Regions from separate parts of the Homo sapiens genome. Here all the other regions are linked to region 3. Evidence: promoter capture Hi-C in 16 types of primary human blood cells and fetal thymus (Javierre and others, 2016). All regions are on one chromosome and are shown on one strand. Each heading gives the region's core, a stretch centred on a gene start or on the middle of the fragment in contact. The rest is flanking DNA. Distances are from core to core; before and after follow the strand shown. Region 1 overlaps ZSCAN20 (zinc finger and SCAN domain containing 20). Region 2 holds the start of TRIM62 (tripartite motif containing 62). Region 3 holds the start of MATN1-AS1 (MATN1 antisense RNA 1).

Evidence for each region. The method cuts DNA at HindIII sites, captures the fragments that hold promoters and counts their contacts. A CHiCAGO score of 5 or more calls a contact.
Region 1: a contact is called between a fragment that was not itself captured here and the fragment with the promoter of MATN1-AS1 in region 3, in 1 of 17 cell types (total CD4 T cells). The highest score is 5.1, in total CD4 T cells.
Region 2: a contact is called between the fragment with the promoter of TRIM62 here and the fragment with the promoter of MATN1-AS1 in region 3, in 1 of 17 cell types (fetal thymus). The highest score is 6.6, in fetal thymus.

Annotation. Positions count from the first base shown.
Region 1 is chr1:33,474,971-33,477,696 of GRCh38, reverse strand. The region is part of intron 1 of ZSCAN20 (zinc finger and SCAN domain containing 20); the gene reads right to left. Among named protein-coding and RNA genes, the nearest start is that of ZSCAN20, 3.7 kb to the right of the region's middle. The HindIII fragment of the contact is 4,752 bases long and covers 1-2,726 here.
Region 2 is chr1:33,180,628-33,183,460 of GRCh38, reverse strand. It overlaps TRIM62 (tripartite motif containing 62), which reads left to right and starts at 1,418. Exons shown (of 5, transcript NM_018207.3): 1 at 1,418-2,436. The coding sequence starts at 2,029. It also overlaps a transcript of ZNF362 not described here. RefSeq lists silencers at 1,244-1,553, 1,784-1,853, 2,444-2,643 and an enhancer at 2,726-2,833. The HindIII fragment of the contact is 3,969 bases long and covers 1-2,833 here.
Region 3 is chr1:30,717,290-30,720,126 of GRCh38, reverse strand. MATN1-AS1 (MATN1 antisense RNA 1) reads right to left here and starts at 1,355. Exons shown (of 4, transcript NR_034182.1): 1 at 562-1,355. It overlaps MATN1 (matrilin 1), which reads left to right. Exons shown (of 8, transcript NM_002379.3): 3 at 1,170-1,392. RefSeq lists silencers at 743-832, 1,393-1,912, 1,953-2,132 and enhancers at 490-1,065, 1,163-1,332. The HindIII fragment of the contact is 4,958 bases long and covers 1-2,837 here.

The DNA.
Region 1 (2,726 bases), core at 128-2,627, 2.8 Mb before region 3:
AGCAAGGATTGCAATTAATCCCTTTCTGTGCACACTAGATAAAAAATAAATGACCTTCGCGCTCATGCCAAAAGGAATTCCTTTCTCTTTTATTTCCATGTCTCTGTGACACTTACCACTTTCTACACTGTATGAGACATTGTATGAGAAGGATGTGCGTATCTATGTGTGTCCCAGAGGAGATTACAGCCTCTCTGATGGCACCCATGCTGGGTTATTTGAAAAAATGAGCTCTCTGTGTCATCCCAACAAGTCTGGGTGACATAAAAAATGCCCACTCAAAGGAGATCATTAGCTGCTTCCAAGTGGGAATGACACAACTGAATTGAGAATGGAGAGATGGTGGTATTTTTCATTTTGGGCAATCTGACTGGACTGAAGAGAAACAAGACAAGGGTAATAAAAATTAAAGTCTTGCCCTAAAGGCCTCCATATGCTTAGGAAGAGGCTTAAAGCACAACTCATGGCTACCTGGCAGCTTCCTACTCATCCTTCAACCACCAGCTCAAATGTCACCTCCTTTGATAGGAGTTCCTTGACATGCCCTTTTCATGTCCTGCCCTCCAAGAATTGCCTCCCTGATCCTATATCACCAAAGCAATTGGTACATACCTCTAATATAGGTATTATCCTACACTATTGTAGTTACCTGTTACTATATCTGACACCCACATTATACTATATTACTAGAATCAGTATTGTATGTTACTAATTTCTGTATCCACAGTGCTCAACCCAGTATCTGATAAATAGCAGGGCCATTAAAAAGTTTTATTACCATGTATTAAAATGATAAACCTGGCGTATCAAAAGCCTAATGGGATACAGATATTCCATAATTTATATTAAACTAAACTATTTCTGTCTACCTACATTACTGCTATAAGCACTCAGAGAGATCACATATGTAGAAAGATTTTGCCTTTCATGAAATTTCTTTTTGAACCTAAAGAATTCGCCTTTCATGAAATTTCTTTTTGAACCACAACCTTATTGATGCATGAGTTCAAACACATTTCTGTCACCCTCTCACACAAGGAGCAATTCATCAATCATTTATAGAGTACCAGCTATACCCTGTTTGGAAGCTACAGATCTACCAGTAGCTGGGACTGACAGTCCCTACCTTCAATAAAATTACAGTCTAGTGAGACAGACAGTCAATAAGCAAGCAAAGACATTTGCGTTCCTGCACAAACAGGACACTACAACAAAATAGGCAATTAGCAGTCACACCAGGCCCAAAGCTCAGAGTCTCAGATAATAGGTATTTTCTCCTGGAAAGACTTGAAAGTCCCAAAGGTTTGTTTCAAATAGAAATCGGAAAGCCCCAGGGACCACATATCACCATAACCTTTTTTTTCTAAGGAACCATAACCGTAACTTTCTAAGGAAGTTAGACCGAAGTATGGATAGCAGGCTATTGTGGGGAGAGGGAGGCCAACAGAGTCGGCCAACAGCCGGGTGACTTCACACAGAAGTGAACAAGGGAAAATGGACCGGGGCATTCCTCAGTTCCGAGATGACCAGGAATATCGAGCCTCATTAGGACCAGCAATTTCTAAGAGTACCCCTTTACTGAGTGCCCACAAGGTGCCAGGCACAGTGCTGTGTTCCACATTCATAATCTCACTGAAGCCTCCAGGCAGCAACTGGAGTCTCATTAGGTGTTGAGCTGCATTTCACTGATCTGTAACTTCCACTGCAAAGATCAGAAAGAGAGAAAGAGGGCCGGGCGCGGTGGCTCACGCCTGTAATCCCAGCACTTTGGGAGGCCGAGGCAGGGAGATCACAAGGTCAGGAGTTCGAGACCAGCCTGGCCAACATGGTGAAACCCTGTCTCTACTAAAAATACAAAAAAAAAAAAAAAATAGCCAAGCGTGGTGGCTCGTACCTGTAATCCCAGCTACTCGGGAGGCTGAGGCAGGAGAATTGCTTAAACCCAGGAGGCGGAGGTTGCAGTGAGCTGAGATCGTGCCACTGCACTCCAGCCTGGGCAACAGAGCACGACTCTGTCTCAGAAAAAGAAGAAAAAAAAAAGAAAGAGAGAAAGAGCATGATTTAAATAGTGCAGCCAGTTGCGTTCACTATCTGTTCGAGAATAAGCATGTGGTGGTGGCACCTAGGACTTCGCTATTCACCAGGTTGGTCTTGATTCCCTCGTGCCTCTCTTTCCACTAAGTGTGAGTAAAGTGTCTTTCATACCGCACAGTCCCTAATACAAGCGAATTCTCATCTAATGTTCAAACAAGAAAGCCCAGCTGTGCTGATTAGTTTATTTATTGAAAGGCAGCGTGTTAGTTTCTGAAACGGCTCCTTGCCAAAGGATTTTCAAACTAACTGTGATTTTTGGCTAAAGTGATTTTCACCCTTAGAATATTATTATCTGATAAGGTATGACTGCACTATATCCTCAATTACCTAAAGGGAAACTGAGTGTTTATGAAGATTCACTTAAGGTTACACAACTAGCAAGTGGTAGAGTTAGGGTCTAAGCCGAGATCCCTTTTCTCCAATCATTTTTCTTAACCATGTCTTATAGCCTCCTCTATGTGTGCTAGTCATCCAAACTCTTAAGATGACAGTACGGGAGAATGGAAAGAACATTAAGGCAGGAGTGAGCAGACTGGGGTTCTAGTTCCACTCCTGCCACTAATCAGCTGTGTTACTTTGGACAAGTTATGTAGCCCCTGTGGCTGCCTAGCTAGGCTGCAGCTTACAGCCTG
Region 2 (2,833 bases), core at 169-2,668, 2.5 Mb before region 3:
CAGGGCTCTGCCCATAAGAAAATGTTGAGAAACTGCTGTTGCATGAGCAACCAACTATTTTTCTCGCAATGATGGAGATTCTGGGCCAGATGAGGGTGTGATGGAGAAAGTGTTAACCATAGAGAACTAAACTGAGAGCTTTTTCATAAACTGTACCTCAATAAAGTTTAACACCAATGAAGATATTTCTGGAGGAGGCAGAAACTGGTAGCCACCCTCTATGGCTCATTTCCCTCACCCCCGTATCCAACCATCACCAAATGTCACCGTGTCTGTACTTGCAATACCCTAGTCTTCTCTCCTTACCCACTGCTGAGGCCCCAGTTCGGGTCTCACCTCCTGCAGGCACGATGACAACAGCACCTTAGGGGTGCCCAGTCTTTCCTTCCTCCTGCAACCCAGGGCGTTGATGCGGTTATTCAGCTACACACCTTTACTGTGTGCTGAGTGCTGTGCATCCGCAGACACATTGGAAAAGCTCCCTGTCTTCTTCACCTTGCAGATGGTATAATGATTATCTCCAAGACTTCCTGAAACCCAATCGGACCAGGTCATTCCCTTGCCTGAAAGCCCCATGCCTTCAAGAAATTCTTTACCATGACCCACAATGCCCTCCAGCCCACCCAGGCTCCTTCTCCACCCCACCCCCAACAGTACAGAATTACTAGCACTTCCTTCACTGCGCCCTCCCCTTTCACGCCTCTATGCTTTTGCACAGGCTGTCTCCTCTGCCTAGAAATCCCTTATCCCCTCTCCATCTGGCACACAAGACAAGTTCTCCTATTACTTTTTCTCCCTCTCTCCTGCTCCACCCCTCACCGCCTTACACACACACACACACACACACACACACACACACAAATACAGCACTCCAGAATTGTTTGCCAATGGAGGCAGCCTCCGGGGCCAGATGTTAGCCAGGGCTTTCCAAACTTCTCCCCAAGCACTCCTTAAGAAAGTGAAGAGGAAATGGGACCCCAGGGCTTAGGAGTGTGAGGGCCTTGAACTCGCTCTAAGCAAGCAGGGCATTTCAAGAGTTTTATCTTTATATTTTATGCAGAAGTTGTATTCCAAATATATTCTTGTTCGTTTTAATACAAAATATGATTTTTTCTACATCTTCAAATCGATGATCCAGAAAGATGCTCCTTGTTTATTTGTTGTGCTCTCAAATTAGCTGCTCCGCCTCGCCGCGGGGACCCTAAGCGAGACCTGGATGCAGTTCCAAGTACACACCCCGAAGGAACAGCTGGGCTTCGCTTCCCTGGGAGCTGGAGGATGGTGGGGGTGGGGCGGGGTCAACCGGCTGGTGGCCCCGCCCCTCCCCCGCCCGCTGCGGGGGCGGAGTTGCTTGGGTCCCGCCCACGGGGGCGGGGAGGCAGCCGCGGCCACCGGCAGCTCGGATTCGGCTGGTTCCGGGTTGAGAGGCTGCGCTGGACCGAAGCGGTGGCTGCTAAGCTCGCGGGGGTAAGGGGTCGCGCTGGGCCAGGGTTTGGGGCCGGGATCCGGCAGCTGAGCGGGCCGGCACCCCTCCTCTTCTCTGCCGGTCACAGCCAATGTACGGCTCGGCCTGGCTGCCCCCTCCCCCAGGATTCCCCATCCCCAGCTTCTCGCCCTCCCCGCACCGCCCCCACCCCGGGATTTCGACCCCCTTAAGGGCTCCACCCCGCTCCGGGATCCCCTTCTCCCAGCTCCTATCCCTTAGGACTGCCCCGCCCCCTAGAACCTCCCCGTCAGGATCTCCGTCCCTCAGCCGCTCACAGCCTCCTCCCAGCGCCCATCGCCTTGAGCTGCCCACTACCTCTAGACTGCCCTCCCGGGCTGGCGTCCCACGGAGTCTCAGCCGCGCACCCCTTCCTCGCGTTACCCTCCTTCCGGACAGCACCCCCTCCCTTCTCCGGTAGCTCCTACCCCTGCCTGTGCGGGCCTCGTCCCCGCGCCCAGCCCTCGGTGCTGCCTCCGACAGCGCCGCGCTCTCTCAGCCGCCCCCCTGCCCCTCGGGCCCCCCTCTCTGCTGCCCCTGGCGCCATGGCGTGCAGCCTCAAGGACGAGCTGCTGTGCTCCATCTGCCTGAGCATCTACCAGGACCCGGTGAGCCTGGGCTGCGAGCATTACTTCTGCCGCCGCTGCATCACGGAGCACTGGGTGCGGCAGGAGGCGCAGGGCGCCCGCGACTGCCCCGAGTGCCGGCGCACGTTCGCCGAGCCCGCGCTGGCGCCCAGCCTCAAGCTGGCCAACATCGTGGAGCGCTACAGCTCCTTCCCGCTGGACGCCATCCTCAACGCGCGCCGCGCCGCGCGACCCTGCCAGGCGCACGACAAGGTCAAGCTCTTCTGCCTCACGGACCGCGCGCTTCTCTGCTTCTTCTGCGACGAGCCTGCACTGCACGAGCAGCATCAGGTCACCGGCATCGACGACGCCTTCGACGAGCTGCAGGTGCGCTACCCGGCCTGCCTGGGGAAGGGGCGGGGCCGGGCTGGAGGTGGGGCCGGGCGGGGGGTGGGGTCAGGGCTGGACCGCGGGCCAGGCCCAGTCAGAATGGTCCTGGGGCGGGGCCGCCAGCAAGGTCAGGGCCCTATCAGGAGTAACGCGGGGCAGGGAGGGGCGGGGCCGCCGCATGGCGGGGCCGTGGGGGCGGGGCCTTGGGCAGTCCGGACCCTGAGGGATCTGAGACAGACCTGGAGTACCGGCTGGTCCGCGGTTAGGGAGAAGTCGGGGATGCGGATGGGATGGCGGAAACAAGTGAGATCAGAACTGGACCAGATACTGGGCTGGGGCAGGGTTGTGGACGAACCGGAATCAGAGTTGGGCAAAGGCAGGGCCACTGTCAGAC
Region 3 (2,837 bases), core at 106-2,605:
GCAGTGGGCCTCGGGATGGCAGCGAATAGTCACAGCTAGATTTTCAGAGCCAGGAGCCCAGGCCCCTGGAGAGGAAGAGATTGTACAAAGTCACTCCCCAGGTAGCCCAGGGTAATGATGGTAAAAATAATAGTTGCCCCTTCTGGCTTCTAACCAGGAGTCATCTCACTCAACCTCACCACAACCCTTTTTACAGTTGAAGACACTGAGGCTCAGGAAGGTGACCTGTAGCTTGTGGAGCTGCATTTCTAAACACGGCCTGTCTCAACTGCCTGTCATCAGGACAGGGTGTCAGGACCTGGGGCTAAGGATGGGACCCAGGAATCAGAAACAGACCCAAGTCAGAAGCAGAGAAGCAGCAAAGCGGGACTGGATGCCTAACCCAGACTGGGCAGAGCTGGGAGCGCCCTAGCCTCAGGGCGGGTGCAGACAGGGGGTCACGAAGCCGGATCTCAGTGACAGAGTCCGCCACCTCTTTCTTTCCAGGGTACAGACCAGAGGAGCCTAGTGGGAGGGGAGCAGGCAGATTCTTTCCCTCTCTGGCAGGGGCATGTATCATACCGGGGAGTGGAGGAGGATAAGGGCGGCATCTTTCTTGGGTTGGTCCCTTGGGCATCCACATGGGAGTGGCCCTCCGTCGGTTCCCTGGTCCAGGGTCCCCGGTCTTACCGGGACAAGGACAGCAAGACGGGAGACGGCAGCCCCATCCCTTAGCTTCGGCTGCCATCTGGTGGCCAAAGCGCAGAACTGCACCATGTGGAACCACCGGATCCCCCCACCCAGCCCCGGCCGGGCCTCCCGGGGGCACGAGGGGCGTGGCACGACTCCCACAGCCATCAGCCTGAGGACCCTGCCCTCAGCCGCCTCAGTCTGAGGGGAAGGCATGGCCCTGACCTTAGAGACCCCAATTTGGCGATGGGGCATCACATCCCTCCGGGCATCTCAGAGCTGCCTGCCCGAGGGAGGCGAAGCAGATGGAAAGCCCCCCAGCCACGTCTCTCAGTCAGAGGAAACGGGTCTCCTCTTCGGCCAGCCGGGTCCTCTTCCCCCGGGTGCCGCCTGGCTGTGCGACCCGGCAGTCCTCCCGCCTCTCCGGGCCTCAGCCTCCTCTCCTGGACAGTCCCGTGGGCTTCCGGGAGCCCGGTGTCACACCGCCCCGCGTGTCGCAGGTGGTCATCGTGGTGACAGACGGGAGGCCCCAGGACAGCGTGCAGGACGTGTCTGCGCGGGCCCGGGCCAGCGGCGTCGAGCTGTTCGCCATCGGAGTGGGCAGCGTGGACAAGGCCACGCTGCGGCAGATCGCCAGCGAGCCGCAGGACGAACACGTCGATTACGTGGAGAGCTACAGCGTCATCGAGAAGCTGTCCAGGAAGTTCCAGGAGGCCTTCTGCGGTGCGCGGGCAGGCGGGGGCGGAGCCAGGGCAGGGGCGGAGAAGGGGAGAGCGGCGGGGCGGGGCCAGGGCTGGAGGCGGGACCGAGGCTGAGGCGCAGACGGAGCCAGCGCCGGCGCAGGGCAGGGGCGGGGCCGGGGGGGGGGCAGAGGCGGAGACGGGAGAGAGATAGAATGTCAGTGCCGGGGCGGGGCCGGGGAGGAGCCGGGGGCGGAGGCGGAGACGGAGAGAGTCAGCGCCGGGGCGGGGCAAGGGTGGGGCCAGGGCAGGGGCGGAGACGGAGAGAGCGGCGGGGCGGGGCCAGAGCAGGCAGGGGGCGGGGCCAGGGCAGGGGCGAAGACGGAGACAGTCAGTGCCAGGGCGGGACCGGGGCGGAGGCGGAGAGAGTCGGCTCCAGGGGCAGGGCCAGGGCTGAGCGGGACGAGGCCGTGGCAGGCGCAGAGACTGAGAGTCCGCGCTGAGGCGGGCCAAGGCTAGGGGCGGAGCCAGCGCTAAAGTGAAGACAGAAAAAGTCAGCGTCGGGGGGCGGGGCCACATCAGAGGGCGGGGCCTGGCTGGGGCGGTAGCCTATAAAACGGCGGGAACTGAGTTACACGGCAACATCAGGGCGGGGCCAGGGCTAGGGACACGGCTTAGGTGGATTGGGGGTGGAACCTGGATTAGACTGAGGTGGTGCCAGCACCAGGGGTGGGGCCGTAGCTGGGGCGGAGCCTGATAACGGAGGAGGGTCTCCAGCCCCAGGTTAAGGGAGTTGGGGAGAGGCGATGTTAAGAGTCCTTTTATGGCCGGGCGCGGTGGCTCACGCCTGTAATCCCAGCACTTTGAGAGGCCGAGGCGGGCGGATCACGAAGTCAGGAGATCGAGACCATCCTGGCCAACATGGTGAAACCGGTCTCTACTAAAAATACAAAAAATTAGCCGGGCGTTGTTGCGGGCGCCTGTAGTCCCAGCTACTCGGGAGGCTGCGCCAGGAAAACGGCGTGAACCCGGGAAGCGGAGCTTGCAGTGAGCCGAGATCGTGCCACTGCACTCCAGCCTGGGCGACAGAGCGAGACGACTCCGTCTCAAAAAAAAAACAAAACAAAAAAAAAAACCGCACACACAAAAAACAACAGAGCCCTTTTATGTGGCAGAATCCTGGCAGGGACCAAGGAGGGCCCAGAGCTCAGGAAGGAGAGCTCCCAGAAAACCTACACATGTTTCTGTGTCGTGAGTTTTGGGTGCCAGAGTTTTCTGTGATGCGGGAGAGTCTGAGAGGCCTGGGCACTGGCAGGAGAAGGTTCAGAGCCCTTCTCGGAGGGGAGGTGTGTGTGTGGGTCTTTGGGATGTGACCCGCAGGGGCAGGGTGTCCAGTAGGACAGGATCAGGGTTAGGGCAGGGACTTTACCCATTTGTAAAATGGGTCTAAGAAGAGCATGCACGTTATTGAGAGGATCCAGTGAGATA